Linked DNA regions of Homo sapiens: region 2 is linked to region 1. Evidence: promoter capture Hi-C in human tissues and cell types (Jung and others, 2019). All regions are on one chromosome and are shown on one strand. The core of a region is centred on a gene start or on the middle of the fragment in contact, and the rest is flanking DNA. Distances in the headings are between cores, read along the strand shown. Region 1 holds the start of HSD17B3 (hydroxysteroid 17-beta dehydrogenase 3). Region 2 has its middle 19 kb from the start of FBP1.

Region 1 (5,307 bases), core at 1,747-4,246:
CTACAATTCGGTATATCGTAAAACTTACAATTTACCCTTGCAACAACAATTAAAGGGCATGCTTTCAAAAAGTGTGAACAAAAGGTACATTTAGCTCACCTGAGAGTGAGTGCAGGCCAAGCTGTACAAGCCTCACGGACCACACTGGCTTTAATAATTACTAATGATGTGTCTGTTCGTTTAGGAACTTCTAAGAGGCTCCATGCACACCGTCTGCAGCTCTGGGTGGAGGAACTATGCTCAGGGCATCTTGGGCCTTACCTTCCCCTCCCTGTGGGGAATCTTCAATTCACCCAATACAGGGCCTACACTACAGGCAAGATGATACCATCAATAATAACGACGGATAACGGTCACACACTCACTTCTTGCCATGTACTGCTTCTAGTGTTTTAGATGCATCATCTCATTTAATGTTCAAAACAAACCTAAAATGCAGGGACCATCATTATCCTTAGTTTATAAATGAGGAAGCCAAGGGGAAAAAGTTCGTAACTTGATTAAGGTCACACTGCTAAAAATGATGACACAAGGATTTGAACCCAGGCTGTCTGACTTTGGGGCCCTGAGTCTATGAATATACACTAAGAAAAGAATTAGGAAATCCAGCACAGAGCTCAGGGTACTCTATCTGAGGAATTAAAAATTTAGCCTCTAGTTCTTGCGTTTCTTTTTTGTCCCCTACTTGAAATATATTATCTCCCTGATATCTGCCTCTGCCCAAACATATTTTACTCCTGCTAGAGGTAACTCTATCCATCTTGACTCATAAAAACAGGTTAAGATCATGTTTTTCCTTTGAGTCACCAAATGCTCTTAGTCTCTGTCCCCATTTGAACTTCTTTTAGAATGTAGGTTTTTAGAAGGGCTTTCCCTACACAAACGACAGCAGCTGTGCAGAGTGCTACGTCCACCCACACGTGGGCATCTGAATCTGTGTGGAGTGGGGTATTTAAATCCAGAACACTCAGGTCAAGCTGCTGAGCAAGTTCAAGCAAGTTCACTCCTGACAGCATAATACCCCAAGAGGACACACACACACACACACACACACACACACACACACACACACACGCACACAGCAAATATAAGACGCAGAAGTCAAAAATCCATTTGTCATCCCAAACAATTTCTCACACGGTAATTTTTTTAATTTCCATTGCTAAGTTTTTAAGGTTGCCAGGTTTAGCAAATAAGGATACAGAATGCCCACTTAAATTTGAAATTAAGGTAAATTATGAATTGTTTAATGCATGTCTCATGCCATATGTGAGTTATACTAAAAAAGTATTCCTTTTTTTCTGAAATTTAAATTTAACTGGGTATCCTGTATTTTATCTGGCAGCCCTATAAGCATATTAGAATCTTTCCTATTTTGCCTAGATAATATCTCTAAAGTCACTTAATCATTTTTGTCATTGGATTCTTTGTGTGTGTGTGTGTGTGTGTGTGTGTGTGTCCAAATTTGAAATATAAGGCCCTGCAAAGACTTTAGCATTTCAGATATTCAAGGAGATGCTGAAACCATGGCCTCATGCTCTTCACCTTAACTTCAGTCATAGGGCTGAAGTTCTGCATGGGCGTTCCAGTAGATAAATCCCATGGGGAGGCAGCATTAATTGACACCAGCCAGACCCAGATTCCATTCCATACCATCCTGAAAACATGGCTCCATAGAGTTATGCGTTGCCTTGATTTTGTAACACCTTCATTTCTTAAAAACACTTGGATCCTTTTTTTAATACAATGAGTTAAAATTATTTAGATTTCAAAATTTGGAAACACCTTTTAGTAAAGTGAAAGCACCCTGGGCTTTTTGTAAATTTAGAGATGAGGATGCAGAAATTTCTGCATTATTTATTATTTGTATTAGCAGGAAACTCCCAAAAGAAGAAAACTCATCTAATGGGGTTGAGAGGATAAGTGCTTAGCAAGGGCTGGGTAGCCTTCTGCCCTAGTGTTCCCCTAATGCCCTACAGCTTGTGTTGCAGACCATTCTAATTTCACTCACACTTTTCTAATCCCCCCAATTAAAATTACCCAAAGGAATTACTTCTTTGCTCTCAAAGAGAAAAAAATGCAATATCCCTTTTGAGACATAAATAATAATAAGCAGGGGCTGGGTGCGGTGGCTCACGCCTGTCATCCCAGCCGTTGGGGAGGCCGAGTCGGGTGAATCACAAGGTCAAGAGTTTGAGACCAGCCTAGCCAACAGGGTGAAACCCTGTCTCTACTAAAAATACAAAACGTTGGCTGGGTGCGGTGGCTCACGCCTGTAATCTCAGCACTTTGAGAGGCTAAAGTGGGCAAATCATGAGGTCAGGAGTTCGAGACCAGCCTGGCCAACATGGGGGAACCCTGTCTCTACTAAAATACAAAAAATTAGCCAGCCGTAGTAGTGTGTGCCTGTAATCCCAGCTACTTGGGAGGCCGAGGCAGGAGAATTGCTTGAACCCAGGAGGCAGAGGTTGCAGTGAGCAGAGATCGCACTACTGCACTCCAGCCCGGGCAACAGAGTGAGACTCTGTCTCAAAAAAAAAAAAAAAACACCATTAGCCAGGTGTGGTGACAGGCGCCTATAATCCCAGCTACTTGGGAGGCTGAGGCAGGAGAATTGCTTAAACCCGGGAAGCGGAGGTTGCAGTGAGCCAAGATCGCGCCATTGCACTCCAGCCTGGGTGACAGAGCAAGTGTCTGTCTCAAAAATAATAATAATAGTAACAAGCAGGAACAACAGCAGCAAAAAAACATGAGATGGAACACTCCCTTACCTGCCCACTGTCCCATTGACCGCAAGAAAGACTTTGGCAAAACTTTCCAGTAGTTCAGTAAAACACATCTGGAGAATCTCACGCACTTCGCCAGGCAGGCCAGGCACACCAGCAGCCCTGTGAGGATGAAGAACTGTTCCAGGACGTCCCCCATGGCTGCACTCAACAGACTGTTTCAGCCCTGGCCGTGGCTCTCTGTGTATGCCTCCTGGGACCACGCTGCTCTGGAGACCTCCAGATCTTCTTCCAGGAGTCACTGGACGTGTTCCATCAAGTCAGGGGCATCTAGATTAAAGTAACTTCTTTACATAATCCTCTGACTCACAGGCCTTTGAATAAGGCTTTTGTTACTGTGGAGGAGCTGGTGAAAAAGTAAAAGGTGGACATGAAGGGAAAAAAACAAAGCCTGGACAAATATAAAATGGCAGCCCACAGTTCTCTCCCTGAATTTGGGAAAGTTAAAAAGGATGCAGAATCCAAGGCAATTATTCATACATTTAGCACTATGTATTGACTGCCTACCAGGTGGAGTCCCCTCTTGAAGGCATTAGGAAGTTAATAGTGACCACAGAGGGTCTCTCTGGTTTGGAGCTTAGATTCTGGTAGCAGGGACAGATGATGAGCAGATAAATAAGATAACATCAGATGGGGCAGTGGCTCACGCCCATAATCCCAACATTTTGGGAAGCCAAGGCAGGCGGGTCACATGAAGTCAAGAGTTCAAGACCAGCCTGGCCAACATGGTGAAACCTCATCTCTACTTAAAATACAAAAATTAGCCAGGCCTGGTGGTGGGCACCTGTAATCCCAGCTACTTGGGAGGCTGAGGCAGGAGAATCACTTGAACTTGGGAGGCGGAGGTTGCAGTGAGCCAAGATCACGCCATTGCACTCCAGCCTGGGTGACAGAGTGAGATTCTGTCTCAAAAAAAAAAAAAAGATAACATCAGTGCTATGAAAAAGCACTATTGAATGATGTGTTTGAGTAGCTACTCAGGGAATGCTTCAGAGAGGGTGTTCAGGAAGGAATTCCATGAAGAGGTGGCATTTTTAGTTGAAATTTGAATGAAAAGGAGCCAGCTCCGCAAAGATGAGTTTCCCCCTCCAGGCTAATGGAACGGCTAGTACAATGCCTGAAGTGAGAAAAATCCACGTATTTGAGGAATAAGAACTAGGACAGGACAGGCATGGTGGCTCACGCCTGTAATCCCAGCACTTTGGGAGGCCGAGGCAGGCGGATCACAAGGTCAGGAGATTGAGACCTACTAAAAATACAATAATTAGCTGGGTGTGGTGGAGCATGCCTGTAATCTTAACTACTTCGGAGGCTGAGGCAGGAGAATCGCTTGAACCTGGGAGGTGGAAGTTGCAGTGAGCTGAGATTGTGCCACTGCACTCCAGTCTGGGCGACAGAGCAAGACTCCATCTCAAAAAAAAAAAAAACACTAGGACAACACAGCAGAGGGACTGGCCACAGAGAGTAAGGGAGGAAAAGGCCAGAGCAGGAGGGAGGAGCCATGCCCTACGGGTGAGTGTGGACTTTCAGAGCAACCAGAAGCCATTGCACAGATTTAGGAAACAGAGTTCTATACTCTGAATTATGCTTTTAAAAGGCCACTGGATGCTGAGGGAAGATGTCCTTCTGGGGGTGGGATGGAGGGTGGGTGTGACAACTGAAGCAAGGGCAGCCAGGATACTGAAGTCATCCCTGCAGAGGCCACAGGATCAGTCCTTGGCCTTCTCTCATTTCTGCCTGTGCTCACTCTCAGCTCACTCTGTGCTGCAATCAACAGCCTTGCGCTCACCCTAGAAGCAGAATTGCTGGCCAGAACATAGATTCATACGTCTTTATGCTAGATATTGTCAGATTTGCCTTCATTTTGCATTCACGCCAACAACACGTGAGCATGTTCGTTTTCCCACTGCCTTAGCAGTAAAGCATGTTGTCAAGCTTTGGGACTTTTGCCACCCAGTAGGTAAGAAGTAGCATCCAATGTTGTTTTAAGTTTAAATTATCTTATCAGCCAGGTTGGAGAGATTTTCTTAAGCCTAAGAGCTATTTTCACTGTTTTCTTTGTGAATTTTCTCTCTCCTGCCCGTTTTTCTATGTGGTTTTTGGTCTTTCCCTTCTCTGTATTTAGAGATGGTTTCAGGACTCTGATTAGTCAGAAATTCGACCTGCTCACTCTGTCCTTCATGGTCATTGATTATCTCTTCAGGTGTGTCTGATCATTGTTAAGTCAGCCCATTGTGGTTTTTATTTTAATGACCTTAACTTCATTTCTAAAAGTTCCTTTTCTTTTTTGCAAAACTGAGGCTTTTCTTCTTATGGTTCTCTGCTCCATGCAGATATTTTTAATTTTGACTTTCTTTACCTCAGCATAATTGTCTTATGATCTGGCTTTAACAATTCCAGTACCTACATCAGCCTTTCTGTTGCTGTCTCCTCTCTCTGGTAGGTCTCACTCATGGTGCCCTGTTTCCTTGTGTGCTTGATAATTTTCACCTGTGCACATCCCATTTTGCTTGGAAATTTC
Region 2 (5,571 bases), core at 393-2,892, 1.6 Mb before region 1:
TGTTTTCACAGAGTGACCATGTTCAGTCTTCATAGCAATTCTGTGAGGTGGTAGTTTCTGCCTGTTAAAAGGAAAACTGAGGCAAACTACATTTAACAGAGTTTAATTGAGCAAAGAATGATATGGGAATCAGGCAGCCCCCTGACCAGAAGAGGTTCAGAGCGTCTCTGGTGCTGCCGTGTGGTGAGAGTCTTTACGGGCAGAGAACGGAAAGTGAAGCACAGAAAACAGAAGTGAGGCAGAGAAACAGCCTGATTGGCTACAGCTCAGCGTTGGCCTTACTCGAACACAGTTGGAAGACTTGGCCACCTGTGAGTGGTTGAAGTATGGTTGCTTGTCACAAGAGTAGGTTACAGCCCCTTTCACATCCAGTTAAGTGACAGTTCCCTTTGTGCAGAGAAGCCTTTAGCCACACAGGTCCCAAATGTAACATAACATTTGTTACACTTAAAATAAGTAAGGAGGCAGCTGTAGGCTAAATTTAACATGCCTGGGAGGAGGGAACTGAAGCTCAAACCAGAAGCAGCAGATAGATGGGTCTGCAAATTTCATGCGTTTTCCACCAGATCTCTGCCTGTGGCTCAGAGAGGTGTGGCAGCACAGCTACCTCACACAGCTGCTGAGAAACAGGCTTGGATACAGGTCTTTTTTTTCTCCCCACTTTTGCTTCAGATCTCTACCCAGGTATAACGAGCTGCATCTCAAGGTCAGAACGACTGAACAATAAAGAGGTTGGTTCAACAGATGACCTCAAAACTCATAACCTACATCCCGAAGCTAAAGAAAAACTTACGTCTCCAAAAAGAGGTGTAGTTAGCTGCAGGTTATTTGAATGAGCAGCACATGCTGTGCATTTGCTTTAAGATTCTCCAAACACGCAGAAAGCCAAGCTAATCCTCAGCGCTCCCATGCCAATCTGGTGTGGGGACCCTCCACTCCAGGCTGCCTTGTAGAATGCCTTATTGATGTGCGGCAAGGGGCACCCCATGAAAGTCCCAACAGCTCTGAAGGTAATGAGCAAATAATCCAGTTGAGCAAGCAATCAAAGAACAATAACAATTGTCTTGTGACAATACCCCCCAGTTTGTAATTAGTTAGCTTAAATTAGTTTAAATTCACTTCATTTGGAAGATTTTGCCTCTGAGGCAGGCCAAGGCTCTCTTTCAGAGGCCAATTAGATTAAATTAGAAGTGGCACATTAGCTGGGGAGACTTCATTCATTTTGGGTTTTTGCAGCCTTAATTATGATGCAGACACAGCTGGAGTCATCCTTTGGAGGGTTTTCTTGCTTCAGCAGGCACTGGAGGCGACTGGATTCCTGGGAGAGGTGCTTTCAGTGGCGTGTGTGGCCAACCAAGCCACCCAAGGCTACTTTGTCACCAGATTCTGCTCTTGGCCCATTCCCCCAGCTGCTGTGGGAGAGTCACAGGAAGTGAGGAATCCTAAGAAGATCTTCCTTTTTCAAAACAGCTTCATCAAGGTGCAATTAACAGACAAGAAACTGCACACACTGAAAATACACACTTTGGTATGTTTTCACATGTCTATACCCATGGAACTACCACCACAATCAGAATAATAAGTATATTGAAGGAAATGAAAATATTTCACTCCAAAATATACTTTTTGGCATATTTTAAGATGGCTATTCAAAAGGGCTAGAAATCCAAGAATAGCTGAAAAGCTGTCTTGCTGGGGGAGGTTTGCGTCCATAGAGACCATCTTTGTGAGCCAGGCCTCCTCTTCTGCCCCTGCCATAAGCTGATTTGTCATCTTTTTTTTCTTTTCTTTTTTTTGAGACGGAGTCTCGCTCTATTGCCCATGCTGAGGTGCTGAAGTGCAGTGGTGTGACCTCGGCTCACTGCAACCTTTACCTCCTAGGTTCAAGCGATTCTCCTGTCTCAGCCTCCCGAGTAGCTGTGACTACAAGTGCATGCCACCACGCCCAGCTATTTTTTTTTTTTGGTATTTTTGTATTTTTAGTAGAGACAGGGTTTCACCATGTTGGCCAGGCTGCTCTCGAACTCCTGATCGCAGGTGATCCACCCGCCTCAGCCTCCCAAACTGTTGGGATTACAGGCGTGAGCCACCGCACCTGGCCCCCCCGACTTGCCATCTTAACCCACTGTGGGCCACCCTCAGATCCCCTGTTCTCTCTGTAACCTCGAGGAGATACACAAGCTTCTGCACCCGTGGGGGTTGGGGTCATCTTTCTGTGATTTTCCCTCCATGCACGTTGATAAATTTGTATGCTGTTTCTAGTATTAGTCTGCCTTTTATAAATTGATTTTTCAGCAAGTTTTTAGAGGATGCAGGGGAGCTTTTTCCCTTGGTCCCTGCAATATCTATCCATTGCCCCCAGAAATTTCCTCGTGTAATTTTGTCATCTCTCCCTCCACCCCTTCCCTCTCACACAGACTCGGGCAACAACTGGTCTGCTTTTGTCACCATAGACTACTTTGTATTTTCTAGGATTTTATATAAATGGAATCATACTACATGTACTCTTTTTTTGCTCTTTCGCAAAGCATAATTGAGATTTATCTATGTTGTTTTGAGTTATCAATAATTATTCCCTTTTTATTGCTAAGTAGCATTCTATCATCCAGATATACTACAGTCTGTTTATGTTTATCGTTGAGAAATTTGGACCTTTTCTAGGTTGGGGTTATTTCACATAAAGCTGCAGCAGACATTTGTATACAAGTTTTTGTGTGGACATATGCTTTCATTTCTTTTGGGAAAATACCTAGTAGTGGAATGGCTGGTCATAGGCTGCTATATGGTGAACGTTTTCAGAAACTGCCAAACTTTTCCAAAGCCATTGGACCATTTTACATTCCCATTAGCCTGGGACCATTGTTACAGGTTCCCAGGTGATCTATATCTTCCCAACACCTAGTATGATTAGTCATTTAATTTTAGCCATTCTAATAGGTATTAACTAAGGTTACCCTAAAGCTGCCTCCATACATAGTTTAAGTTGGGCCTTAATTTCCTCTGTACATAGTGAACTATAACTTAACTGGATGTGTAAACAGACTATAACCTACTCTTGTGCCAATTATCAAATTGCACTCAATTTTCTTTTTCTATAATTCCTCTCCAATCACGTGGCAGCCACCAGCGTTATTCTGACCTATTCTGGCTCAGGAGGCCACACAGTTCATGAATCGTTCTTTGCTCAATTAAACTCTTAAATTTAATGTCTTAAGTTTTTATTTTAACAGTCGTAGTGGTTCTCATTATGATTTTGTGTGTGTGTGTGTGTGTGTGTGTGTGTGTGTGTGTGTGTGTGTGTGTGAGATAGCATCTCACTCTGTCACCCAGGCTGGAGTGCAGTGGTGCAATCATGGGCTCGACCTCTTGGGCTCGAGTGATCCTCCCACCTCGACTTCCCAAAGTGTTGGGATTACAGGCACGAGCCACTGTGCCCAGCCTCTCATGGTGATTTTTAATTTGCATTTCTATAATGACAACGATGTTGAGCCTATTTTCCTGTGCTTGTTTCCCAGCTATGTAGCTTCCTTGGTGAAGTGTTCATTCAAATCTTTTGCCCATTTAAAAAAAATGGGTTGGTTGGGCCAGGCGCAGTGGCTCATGCCTGTAATCCCAGCACTTTGGGAGGCCGAGGCGGGTGGATCACAAGGTCAGGAGATCGAGACCATCCTGGCTAACATGGTGAAACCCTGTCTCTACTAAAAATACAAAAAATTAGCTGGGTGTGGTGGCGGGCACCTGTAGTCCCAGCTACTCGGGAGGCTGATGCAGGAGAATGGCGTGAACCCGGGAGGCAGAGCTTGCAGTGAGCCGAGATCGTGCCACTGCACTCCAGCCTGGGCGACAGAGCGAGACTCCATCTCAAAAAAATAAAATAAAATAAATAAATAAATAAATAAATAAATAAATAAAAATTGGGTTGGTTGTTTTCTTACTGAGTTTTGAAAGTTCTTTACATATTCTGCATACAAGTCTTTTATCAAATATATGGTTTATAAATATTTCCTCTCATTCTGTGGCTTGTCCTTTTATTCTCTTAACAGTGTCTTTTGAAGAGATGAAGTTTTTCATCTTTTTTTTTTTTTTTTTTTTTGAGACAGGGTCTCTCCCTGTAGCCCAGGCTGGAGTACAGTGATGTGACTTCATCTCACTGCAGCCTCTACTTCCCAGGCTGAATCATTCCTCCCACCTCAACCTCCTGAGTAGCTGGGACTGTAGGTGTGTGACACCACACCCAGCTAATTTTTAAAAAATTTTGTAGAGATATGGTCTCACTATGTTGCCCAGGCTGGTCTCAAACTCCTGGCCTCAAGTAATCCTCCCAGTTCAGCCTCCCAAAGTGCTAGGATTACAGATATGAGTCACCTCACCTGACCTGAAGTTCTTAATCCTGATGAAGTCAAATTTGTCAATTTTTTTTCTTTTATGTACTGTGTTTTGGTGTTGGATCTAAACAAAAACACTTTGCCTAGCCCAGGGTCATAAGACATTTTCCTGTGTTTTTGTAAGAGCCAAGGGAAAGATTCCCCTTCACTCTGTGAAGATTTACTAGCAAATCAACTGACAAAAGGCAGACTAATTGGAGAAAGCGCATAAAAATGTATTAATGTGCACACAGGGGAGAATCAGAGAGTGATGGCCCCATATGCCATTGGGGCCAATGTATTTATATAGCCTTATTTCAGGGGGGTGAGGGGAGATGGGAATATAGGTGATTGTGTTGAGGGGTAATAAATGATTACTAGGGAGAATGAATGGAAAGAGGAACAGAGATTAACTTGTGAATGAGTTCTATTCAGGTGTGATTGGGTCCTATTCAGGTGTGGGTACATTCTTGGTTGTTTTTGGTCTTGCTTTGTCACCCCAGCTGGAGTGCTATGGCACAATCTTGGCCTTGACCTCCTGTGCTCAACTGATCCTCTTACCTCAGCCTTCTGAGTAGCTGGGTCTACAGATGCATGCCATCATGTCCTGCTAATTTTTAAATTTTTTTTGTAGAGATGGGGTCTTACTACATTGCCCAGGCTAGTCTTGAATTCCTGGGCTCAAGCAATCTGCCCACCTTGACCTCCCGAAGTGCTGGGATTACAGGCATGAGTTACCGCCTTGGTCTTGTTTTCTGCAACAGATAATAAGATAATAGGGAGGGGGAGGGAACAACAATTGTTCTCCTGATGGGTACATCTAGTCTTTATGAAGGTAGGAGAAAGTCTCTTCCGGATCAAAGGTCTGTTGACCTCTAAGGGCCTTTAATTCAAAATACTCATTATACCAGGAAGCCATATTTCAGGGTAAAGTTCTCTGTACTCCTTCATTCTAGAAATTTTACAGTTATTTTATTTTATTTTATTTTATTTTATTTTATTTTATTTTATTTTATTTTAAGACGGAGTCTCGCTCTGTCACCCAGACTGGAGTCCAGTGGGACGATCTTGGCTAACTGCAAGTTCCACCTCCCGGGTTCACGCCATTCTCCTGCCTCAGCCTCCCGAGTAGCTGGGACTACAGGCGCCCGCCACTATGCCTGGCTAATTTTTTTGTATTTTTAGTAGGGACAGCGTTTCACCGTGT

The links. Contacts are between HindIII fragments. The study calls those that stand out against the background at their distance.
Region 2: a fragment that was not itself captured here is called in contact with the fragment with the promoter of HSD17B3 in region 1 in 1 of the 25 tissues and cell types used here (dorsolateral prefrontal cortex).

Annotation. Positions count from the first base shown.
Region 1 is chr9:96,299,180-96,304,486 of GRCh38, forward strand. HSD17B3 (hydroxysteroid 17-beta dehydrogenase 3) reads right to left here and starts at 2,997. Exons shown (of 11, transcript NM_000197.2): 1 at 2,772-2,997. The coding sequence starts at 2,925. SLC35D2-HSD17B3 (SLC35D2-HSD17B3 readthrough) reads right to left here. Exons shown (of 26, transcript NR_182427.1): 16 at 2,772-3,132. The HindIII fragment of the contact is 9,231 bases long and covers 1-5,307 here.
Region 2 is chr9:94,656,143-94,661,713 of GRCh38, forward strand. No RefSeq gene overlaps it. Among named protein-coding and RNA genes, the nearest start is that of FBP1, 19 kb to the left of the region's middle. The HindIII fragment of the contact is 7,157 bases long and covers 1-5,221 here.